Linked DNA regions of Homo sapiens: all the other regions are linked to region 1. Evidence: promoter capture Hi-C in 16 types of primary human blood cells and fetal thymus (Javierre and others, 2016). All regions are on one chromosome and are shown on one strand. Each heading gives the region's core, a stretch centred on a gene start or on the middle of the fragment in contact. The rest is flanking DNA. Distances are from core to core; before and after follow the strand shown.

Region 1 (3,700 bases), core at 844-3,343:
CAGGATGGTCTCGCTCTCCTGACCTCGTGATCCGTCCGCCTCGGCCTACCAAAGTGTTGGGATTACAGACGTGAGCCACCGCGATGGGGTCTCTCCATGTTACCCAGGCTGGTCTCAAACTCCCATGCTCAAGCAATACTCCAGCCTCGGCCTCCCAAAGTGCTGGGATTATATGCGTGACTCACTGAGCCCTATTAATATGACTCTTCTTACTAAAATTTTATTCCAATAGTTTGTAGGCAAATTATAAAACTGCTAAACGGGCTACTGAAATTTTTATTAGGTATGTCTTTATCAAAACTGTAATAATTCAAAAATTTAAATATTTTTATTATTTATTTATTGAGACCGGGTTTTACTCTTGTCGCCCAGGCTGGAGTGCAATGGCGCAATCTCGGCTCACTGCAATCCCCGCCTCCCGGGTTCAAGCGATTCTCCCACCTCAGCCTCCTGAGTAGCTGGGATCACAGGCAGCGTCACCACGACCGGCTAATTTCGTATTTTTAGTAGAGACGGCGTTTCACCGTGTTGGCCACGCTAGTCTTGAACTTCTGACCTTAGGTGATCCGCCTGCCTGGGCTTCCTAAAGTGCTGGGATTACAGGCGTGAGCTACGGCGCCTGGCCAAAAAATATGTTTTTTAATGGAAAAACAAAAACAACCACACGAAATAGACTGTTCTTTTGAGAAGGCCAGTTATAATTTCCTTTTCTTAAAAATTTCTTCATAAGGCATTGTCTACAATGTTAAATAAATTTAAACAAACATTTTACATAAAAGCAAATCATTCCTATATTAGGATAAAAGTATCAATTGTTAGTTTTCCCTTAAAATAACATTCAGGAACTTACTTCTCCAGCGTCCAGTAGCAGGTTGCAAACAATGAATATATTCAGTAAGTCTCCTCTCAAAAGCCTTGAGATCTAGGTATAAAGATGTCAATTTTCTAATTAGCCACTCTTACTCGTCTGACGAAATGTCAGAGTATTTACCTAACATTAAGACGACATGTGAGATACTCTTAACTGCTTCAGGTCTTACACACTAACTTCCATGTATCACTGCACTGTTTATTTCATTTACTATGACAGCTTTTTAAGCACTTGACAAAAAATTAGGGCTCTTTAATTCCAATTTCTCATATAAGAAAACTTGCTGATTTACTTTTAGAAGCTTCATAAATGGTATTGGGAGAAATAAGCAGCAGCCTCGGCCAGCGCCAAAAGCGAACATTTTCAGGGTTGCAAATAAAATTAAAATCAGGTCGAGTTTTAGCTCTCTGGGAACCAAGAACTTCCTATTAGAACCACGTAGTGCCTAACATCAAAGTCTTCGAGGTCTACCTGACTGCAATTACCCGCCTCCGGTTTCCAGCTCTTATATTTAATTAATGGCTACGCCGTCTGGCCTTACTAGACTTCTTGACACTGATAGCGAGTGGGTGTGGAAAGACATTCCCCTTGCCCCCTCCGAAGGGGTACAGGTGATCTTCGTGGCACCCAGGCAGCGCCTAGTTCTAGAAGACAGGGGCGTCTAAGCTGCTCCGAGTGAGTGGTGGGGTATCCTTTCCGCAGTGGTGTGCTTTAAACTTTAAAACACCGAGCAGCACTTCCTAACCTTGGCAGTTACCGGAAACCACCGCAGGAATCAGGGATACAACTCGCGGGGCTGTGAGAATGAAATGAAATGAATTAGCAGGCTGCAATGCACGAAGTGCAAGTGTCTGCCAGTGAAAAGAAAATAAAAATAGAAGCTGGCGAGGAGGTCGACCCTCTAGGTTTGTGGGGACTCAGGGAGCTGAGGCACCGCCCCCCGCGTCTGGCCAGGTACGGCCGCCTACGCGCCCCCAAGCTCCGGGCCCCTAGCTCCATCCTCTGCGGCCTCCTCCCGGGGCGGGGGTCTTCACGACGCCGGCTCCTCCGGAGCACCGCCAGCTTCCGAGGGGAGACGGGGGACGGGCCCGGGCGGCCCACCCTACCTTCCGCCTGCTCCAGCGAGTTCATGTCGGGCGGCAGCTCGGGTCACCGCCGCTGCCCTGTCCGCATCGCAGCTTCCGCGGCCCCCGCCCGGCCCGCAGCGCCAACTCCCACCTCTAACCGCTCCCCGCTGCCCCTCCCCGTCGCACCGCCCCTTGCCTAGACCCGCTACGCTCATTGGATTCCTCTACTAGACCTCCAACTAAGACAGCTTTCTATTGGCTGTCTCTTGCACCGGCCTCGGCGCCTAGCGTTGGACGGTCAGCCGGAGGGACCAAGAACTGCCGGCGGCCAGGCGGGCGTAACGCTGGCGTCGCCTGCTGCCCCGGGGAGGAACTGCAGCCCTCCGGAGCCAGTTCGTTCATTCATTTATCCCCCGTTCCCCGCTTGGTTCTTTCATTCGTCAAATGTTGATTGAGCGCCCACTACCTTCCAGGCATTATTCTGGTCGCTAGCGAGGGATACAGAAATCAAAGAGCTGGTTCTGTCCTCAAGGATCTCAAGGAGTAATGAAATCTGTACAGAACTAACTAGAACCCTAAATAACCAGTTTCCTTAATTATGGTATCCTAGATAACCAACCCCTTAAGTAAACACTTCTCTCTTGGTTACTTTCCTCTCACATCACCCAGCTTTCATAATTCCTAAATGAGGCAAAGTGTAAGCCCAAATACCTATAACTTAAGAAGAGATCTGTAAGGGATTGACTACATTTGTATTTGATCACAAGGCCTTCTTGTTCATTTATTGGTGGCATTCTTTCATTCAAAATCATTTTATTGCCTAACATGCTAGACACTGTATTGATACGCGTGTGAGCCAGGTAGACAGGATTCCTGCCCGCAAAGAGGAAGGGCTACAGCAGGCAACAAACATGCAAATAAGTAATTGATTTCAAATAAGAATAGTTGTGTTAAAATAGAGATCCTGGCCGGGCGCGGTGGCTCACGCCTGTTAATCCCAACACTCTGGGAGGCTGAGGCGCGTGGATCACTTGAGGTCAGGAGTTGAGACCAGCCTGGGCAACATGACAAAACCCTGTTTCTACTGAAAATACAAAAAAATTATCCAGACGTGGTGGTGCATGCCTGTAATCCCAGCTCTTTGGGAGGCTGAGGCACGAGAGTCACTTGAACCCAGGAGACGGAGGTTGCAGTGAGCCACTGCACTCCAGCCTGGGTGACAGCGTGAGACTGTCAAAAAAGAAAAAGAAAAAAAAAAGAATCTAAGACTGATGGGCTAGATTTTTTTGTGGCAGTAACATACCAACTTATAAACAAGACCTAAGGCCCTGCCAGGCAAGGGTTAAATCACTCAAGACCCAGACACTTAAAGAATAAACGATGTTCTAACTGCCACAATGTTCGTTTTTTTCCTCTAGCAGCTAAACAAGCAATATTAAAACAATTGCAGCTTACCAAGTACCAGTCACTGACTAACTGATCCCTTTGTTCCACAAGCCATAACTCCTGCTTTCATTAGACAAGAGACTGATTTCAGTAACTTTCTCCTGATAAGAGACCACCCACCATAGATTGGCCCTAGCCAGTCTACAGAGGCTGCACAATGAGTGCCTTTATGTTCTCTGCTTCGCCTTTTGACGTAAAGGGTCTAACTGTAATGCATTTAAATGTTAAGTCTCTACCCCAAAGTGAACATGTGACCCATGTAACATGCATGATTGTTTATTATGCATGTGTGCACCCCTCTTTCCTGAATAGCTTC
Region 2 (3,700 bases), core at 792-3,291, 490 kb before region 1:
GTGCTGGGATTACAGGTGTGAGCCATCGCACTCAGCTGACAACATCTTAAATATAGAAAACCCCAAAGACTCCACCACAAATTGTTAAAACTAATAAAAGAATTCAGTGAAGTTGCAGGATACAAAATGAGCATACAAAAATCAGTGGATTCCAAGCATGATGGTGATCACTTGTAGTCCTAGCTACTTGAGAGGCTGAGACAATGGGATAACTTGAGCCTAGGAGTTTGAGGCCAGCCTTGGCAACACAGCAAGACCCCATCTCTTAAAAAAAAATTTTAATCAGTGGGATTTCTCTATACTAACAACAAAATATTTGAAAAATAAATTAAGAATACAATCCCATGTACAACAGCATCAAAAAAATTCAGGAATGAATTTAACCAAGGAAGTGAAAGATCTGTACATCGAGAACTGTAACACACTGATGAAAGAAATTGAAGAAGACACAAATAAATGGAAAGATATCTCATGTTCCTGGATTTGAAGAATTAATATTATTAAAATATCCATACTGCCTGTCTTAGTCTGCTTTGTGCATGTAATAACAGGATACCAGAGACTGGGTTATTTACAAAGAAAAGAAATTTATGTCTTACAGCTCTGGAGTCTAGGAAATCCAAGATTGAGGGGCTGTCATCTGGTGAGGGCCTTCTTGCTGTGTCATCCATGGTGTAAAGTCAAAGAGAGGGTGAAAGAGAACAAAAGATCTAGTTCACAGCCTCAAATCTTTTTACAATAGGTATTAATTCATTCAGGAGGGTGGAGACCTCATGACCTAAACACCTCCCATTAGGCCCCATCTGCCAACACTGTCACATTGGGGATTAAGTTTACAACACATGTTTCTGGGGGAACACATTCAAACTATAGCCCTACCCAAATCAAACTGTAGATTCAATGCAATCCCTTCAAAATTCCCAACGGTATTTTTTACAGTAATAGAAAAAACAATTCTAAAATTCATATGGAACCACAATACATCCTAAACAGACAAGAAATCTTGAGCAAGAAGAACAAAGCTGGATGCATCACACTACTTGATTTTAAAATATAGGACAAAGCTATAGTAATCAAACAGCCTGATACCAGCATAAAAACAGACATGTAGACCAGTGGAGTAGAATAGACAGCCCCAGAATAGGTCCACACATTTACAGTCAATTGATCTTTGACTAAGGTGCCAAGAACACAAATGGGGGAAGGACAATCTCTTCAATAAATGATGTTGGGAAAATTAGATATTCAAAGGCAGAACAATGGAATTGGACATTTATCTCACATCATATACAGAAATCAACTCAAGATGGAGTAAAGACTTAAACACAAAGCCTAAACAATAAAACTACTAGAAGAAAACACAGTGAAAAAGCTTCTTGACATTGATCTAGGCAATGATTTTTTGGATATGGCCTCAAAAGCACAGGCAACAAAAGCAAAAATAGACAAATGGAATTACATCAAACTACAAAGCTTCTGCATAGCAAAGGAAACAACCTGTGGAATAGGAGTTAAGAGATAATCTATGGGATAGGAGAAAATATTTGCAAACAATATGTCTGATAATGGATTAATTTCAAAAATATATAAGGAACTCAAGCAACTCAATAGCAAGGAAACAACCCAATTTTTAAAAGGACAAATGACCTAAGTAGACATTTCTCAAAAGAAGACACACAAGTGGCCAACAGGTATATTAAAAAATGCTCAATATCACTAATGAGGGAAATGTAAATCAAAACCACAATGAGATCACCTCACACCTATTAGAACTGCCATAATCAAAAAGACAAAAGGTACGTATTTGAAAGAATGTAGAGAAAAATGAACCCTCATACACTGTTGTTGGGAATGTAAATTGGTACAGCCATTATGGAAAACATTATGGATGTTCCTCAAAACGTTAAAACTAGAACAACCATATGATCGAGCAATCCACTTCCAGGTATATATCTGGAGGATGTGAAATCAGTATCTCAAATAGACTCTCAAGTTCACTGCAGCAATATTCACAATAGCCAAGATATGGAACATCATCATGTTCCATACAACTAAGACTACATCAATGAATGAATGGATAAAGAAAATTGTGTGTGTGTGTGTGTGTTGCACACATACAATGGAATACTATCCAGTCTTAGAGTAAAAGGAAATCCAGTCACTTGTGACAACATGGGTGAACCTGGAGGACATAATGTTAAGTGAAAAAGCCAAACAGAAAGACAAATACTGTATGATCTCACTTATATGTGGAATCTTAAAAAGCTGAACTCACAGAAGATTGAATAGAATAGTGGTTGTCAGTGCTAGGGCTGTGGGAAATGGTCAAAGGGATCAAAGTTTCAGCTTTGAAGAATGAATAAGTTGTGGATATCTAAGGTACAGTATGGTGACTATAGTTAAAGTCATACTGTATACTTTAAATTTACTAAGAGAATAGATCTTAAATATTCCCAACACACACACACACAATTATGTAAGGTGATGGTCATGTTAATTAGCTTGATGTTGGTAATTATTTCATAATGTGTATGTATTTCAAAAATATCACATTGTACACTGCAAATATATACAATTTTAACTTGCCAAGTATACTTCAATAAAGCTTGGAAAATATTTTTAATAAATAGTAAATAATAAGACTAAAGAAATATGACTCCAAGCACCCTCCCAGCAGCCTGACTGGTCACTGTTGATGGGTCCCCACCCCACAGCAGAGCTGCACAACACTACAGGGTCCCTCAGAGGCTGCAGCTATGATGCCTCCAGCCACACCTGAGCATAGGATCTTTGCCAAGGCCTAGAAACTCAGTCCAGCCACTCTAGGTGTAGCTGTTTCCTTTGGAGGGACCACCACCCCCCTCTTCCCAGGTACTGTCCTACTACTTTAAGGATTATAGAATTCACACTCTCAGGGACTTTAATTTTCCTCTCATCACCTCCTCTCCCAAAGTCAACCTCCTCCACTCAGAGTCTCTCTCCTCCTCCCTCTCCCTGACAGGATAATCTAATACGGTAATCCTCAAAGTGTGGTCCTGGACCAGCAGCTCCTGCACCACCTGGAAATTTGTTTCAAATGCACATTCATTTTTACGCCATCTTAATACTTACTGAACCAGATACTCTGGGAGTGGAACTCAGTAATCTGTGTTTCGGCAAACCTTCCAAGGGATACTGGTGCGTGCTCAAGTTTGAGAACCACTGGTCCAGTAAAATCCTTGCAGTGAAATTATACTTTTAAAACCAAAAGCCAAGAGGGGAGCTTGTCTTGGGACAACATCAGGTTCTGGTCTCTGCGACATAGCATCTTCCTACCTGGTGAGCAAACAGCAAACACCAGAGCCCTGGGCTAGGGAAGAACAAAGAGGACCAGCATGTTTGGCAGTGAGGGTTGCACGCTGCACAACTCTAAGGGATGCTACCCACATAAACTACCATGCAAATGGCACAGTATGGTGGACAGGTGGGAACATCAAGGAACCAAAGGGCAGAAAGAGGGATCTTGTGGTTATTTGAATAAGTGGGCTTGAGGGATTCAGTCCCCGTTAAGGGGCAATTGGGAAGATGGGAAGAAAAGCAGTGCAAAACCTGAACTCAGCCCCAGGGGGCGCTCTATATGCAGACAACACACATCATGGGTCAAACAAAGAATGTGTTATTCAGGGGGTCTCAAACGCAAATGCCCACAGGAGCCAGGTTG
Region 3 (3,700 bases), core at 353-2,852, 360 kb before region 1:
CTGAATGAAGTGTGTGTGTGTGTGTGTGTGTGTGTGTGTGTGTGTGTGTGTGTCCATGCACACACAAGTCAGCCTATGTTCTTTCAGTTGCAAGGGCTAGAAATCCAGTTCAAAGTACACAAAACTCAGAGGGGGAATTTATTCAACCCTTGGATTGAAAAGTGTAAGAGGTTGATGAACTTCAGGCTCAGCTGGATCCAGAGACTCAATTACTGTCACCAGGCCACTAGCTCTTGGCTCTGCTTTCTCCACCATTAGCTTTATTCTCAGGCAGGGCCTCCTCTCAAGCCCCAAAAGCACCAGACTGACATACCACTGGCTCAGCAAGCTTTTCATGGAAAGGTCCCACCAAAGCCAAGCCTCAGTCCCTGCCCACCTCTGTACCAATCACCAAGCCAGGGGCTATGATATTCTCATTAACCAGATTCCAGTCACAGGCCCACCTCTGAACCAATCATTGGTCCTGGCAGCTGTGATACTCTCACTGGCAGGCCTGGGTCACATGCTCACCCCTGAACCAATCCTCACTGGCCCTCGCGGCTGTGACACTCTCATTGGCAGGCTTAGGTCATGTGGGGAGAGGAGGCTCTCTAAGTGGAAGTCAAGAGGCTGTTGCTAGAGAAAGTGTTTATTTGGTGCCCAATGGGCAGAAATAACTAGTAACATCAAGGCTTCTCTCTGCCTATGTCCCAAGATGGTCACTTGGGTCTGAAAAGCCTGAGAAACCTGCTGACGCAGAAGAGCAGCCTTGGAAACCTAGCAAAAAGGGAAGGCCTGGGACATACCAAGAGTCCAGACAACCAAAAGGCCCACAGGAGGGGTCAGCAGGACCGGGGCAGATCAGACAGGTGCCAGAGGCAGGCGACCACTCTGCACAGTTACCACCAGAGGGCAGCTGGCCAGGAGGCAGGGTAAACAGGAAGAGGTCAAGTAGCCTTGGGGAAACTCTGTACCTTGCCTGAGGCATGGCAGATAATAACACTGACTACTCACCCTTATTGAGCCTGGCCCTGTCCTAAGCATTTTTATGCATCAACTCAATGAATTATCACCAATGAGATTGGTACATTTATAACCCCATTTTACAGATGAGGAAGCCAAGGCTTTCAAGTAACGAGCCCAAAGTGTCATACGGCAGAAAGGGGGCAAGTCACGCGTCTATTCCACCAAACCCTGAGCCTCCTGAGGTTAGGGGCTGTGTCTTGTTTGTATCTGAAGTCCCTGTGGACCCTAACAATCACTGTGCTTAATGGATATCTGGTGAAGTGAAAGCCTGGGGCAGGGGGCGCTGTCACTGTGTTCTCCACCCTCCCCACCCTCCCCATCCCAGGAGGAAATTACCAGGCTCAGTTCAGGCAATACCCCTTCCAGGTGTGCTGACCTTGGAAGATGATTCTTAGACCTTGCCCTTGCTCTGTTGTAATGGACTCTCAGGCACTACAGTACTCACATCAGTAGAAGAGAGAGTTTGAGATTTTGCAAAGGCTTGACAACTCCAAAGTCTCATGGTGTAGGTCACTTATTTTTGTTTGAGGCGGTCTTGCTCTGTTGCCCAGACTGGAGCACAGTGGCACAATCTTGGCTCACTGAGACCCCCACCTCCAGGGTTCAAGCAATTCTTGTGCCTCAGCGTCCCAAGAAGCTGGGATTACAGGCATGTGCCACCATGCCTGGCTAATTTTTGTATTTTTAGTAGAGACAGAGTTTCCCCGTGTTGGCCAGGCTGATCTCCAACTCCCGGCCTCCAGTAATCCACCAACCTAGGCCTCCCAAAGTGCTGGGATTACAGGTGTGGGCCACTGCAGCCGGCCTGTAGGTCACTATTTATGCCTCTCCCAGGAGTAGCTGGCTGTGCAGTTGGGGGGAAGAGGAAGAACATATTTAATGTGAATTCATTCATCATCCTCCACTGGGCTCCCATGGTGGGCCAAATACCATGTTGAGTGCCTTGAGGGGGACAGAGGGAAGCATGACAAAACCTCCTCTCTCCAATCCCCTCCTGGGAGGAGAAATAAGTCACTGCCAGAAGGAAGAACACAGAAGGAAGTCCTGCCTTCCACAAGAGAGGACTTCAACCGTCTAATCATTTGGGCAACAAAAATGTATTAGGTACATGTCAAGTGCCAGTGAACAAAACAGAATAGACTCAGCTCTTGCCCTCAGGAAGTTCTCAGTCTTATGGGAAGGCAGACAATAGACAAATAAATACGGAATTGCAAATGTGATGTGTTTTATCAGAAACAGAAAAACCACAGGGTGCTATAAGAGAAACTAAAAGAGGTCCGGGTGCAGTGGCTCACGCCTGTAATCCCAGCACTCTGGGAGGCCGAGGCAGGTGGATAACCTGAGGTCAGGAGTTCAAGACCAGCCTGGCCAACATGGCGAAACCCCGTCTCTACCAAAAACACAAAAAATTAGCTGGGTGTGGTGGTGAGCACCTGTAATCTCAGCTACTCGGGAGGCTGGGGCAGGAGAATCCCTTGAAACTAGGAAGTGGAGGTTGCAGTGATCTGAGATCTCGCACCTGAACTCCAGCCTGGGCGACAAAAGCAAAACTCCATCTCAAAATATATATATAAATAAAGACAGAAACTAAAAGGGGACTTGTTGGAGCAGTTTAGGGTTGCCTTTCTGAGGTGGTGAGAGATGAGAAGAGGCCAGCCATATGAAGAGTGTGGGAACAGCATTCCAGAATAAGGGAATAGCATGTGTGAAAGGCCTGCATGGAGGAAGAGTGTGGCATGTTCAAGGGACTAAGATTAGGCAAATTATGTCTGGAGATTAGTGGGTAGAAGTAGGCAGTGGCAGAAATCGGGGTCAGAGAAGAGCACGAGGTCAGGTTACACTGAGCCTTGTAGGCTTAGGAAAAAAGCTTGGGCTTGATCTGAGATGGGAGACCCCCCAAAGGGTTATGAACAGGACGATGATGTGGCCTAATCCAATCTATAATCTATGTTTTTGTTTTTATTTTTGTAACGTACCACCACCCACAGAAAAATCCATGTGTTTTGTTTTTAACAGAGATGGGGTTCTCACTATCTTGCCCAGGTTGGTCTCAAACTCCTGGTCCTCCTACCTTGGCCTCCCAAAGTGCTGGGATTACAGGTGTGAGCCACTGCCCCTGGCCCGGAAATCTGTGTATTTCAAAGTCACTCTGGCTGTGGTGGGGAAAGTGGATTTATGGCGGAGCAGAGTGGAAGCCAGGAAATATGGCAGCTCTTGCTGAGTCAATAGCCAGGGTGCACAGATGAGGGGCTATTCCTTCCTCATAGCGGGCTCTGGGGAGGCTTTCAGAAGCAGATTTTACCCCAGGTGAAAGAGGGACAGGCAGGCAGGAAGGAGAAGGCTGTATTCCCCACTCCACTCACTTTTCTCCTAAATAAAGGGGAGAAAAAAGTTTTTCCTTTTTCTGCCTCAGAAACTATAAAGAGATGCCCATTCATTGGTGCCTTCCAAAATGCCTATGTGTAGACTTAAACAACAATAACAACAGAACATCAGCAGTTCTGAGTGCAAATAATTCAATGATGTTGTAAAATCTGGCATAAATAGATCTGGCTGAGCCTCACAACTTTTCTTCCGGGGCTGACAATGTCAGCAACTCCAAGTCTGAACCCCTACTGGCTCTGAAAGGCAAGATCACAGTAGAGAGAGGAGGAGAAAACGCCCCTGGGTTGCATTTCCCCAGCAAATGGGCATG

Evidence for each region. The method cuts DNA at HindIII sites, captures the fragments that hold promoters and counts their contacts. A CHiCAGO score of 5 or more calls a contact.
Region 2: a fragment that was not itself captured here is called in contact with the fragment with the promoter of CNEP1R1 in region 1 in 5 of 17 cell types (erythroblasts, M2 macrophages, activated CD4 T cells and 2 more); the score reaches 8.2 in erythroblasts.
Region 3: a contact is called between a fragment that was not itself captured here and the fragment with the promoter of CNEP1R1 in region 1, in 3 of 17 cell types (neutrophils, monocytes and naive CD8 T cells). The highest score is 9.3, in neutrophils.

What each region holds. Positions count from the first base shown.
Region 1 is chr16:50,023,618-50,027,317 of GRCh38, reverse strand. It overlaps CNEP1R1 (CTD nuclear envelope phosphatase 1 regulatory subunit 1), which reads right to left and starts at 2,093. Exons shown (of 6, transcript NM_001281789.2): 1 at 1,978-2,093; 2 at 851-922. The coding sequence starts at 2,002. RefSeq lists a silencer at 1,780-2,089 and an enhancer at 1,903-2,404. The HindIII fragment of the contact is 11,127 bases long and covers 1,175-3,700 here.
Region 2 is chr16:50,509,675-50,513,374 of GRCh38, reverse strand. No RefSeq gene overlaps it. Among named protein-coding and RNA genes, the nearest start is that of NKD1, 37 kb to the left of the region's middle. The HindIII fragment of the contact is 1,132 bases long and covers 1,476-2,607 here.
Region 3 is chr16:50,379,451-50,383,150 of GRCh38, reverse strand. No RefSeq gene overlaps it. Among named protein-coding and RNA genes, the nearest start is that of BRD7, 12 kb to the right of the region's middle. The HindIII fragment of the contact is 2,544 bases long and covers 331-2,874 here.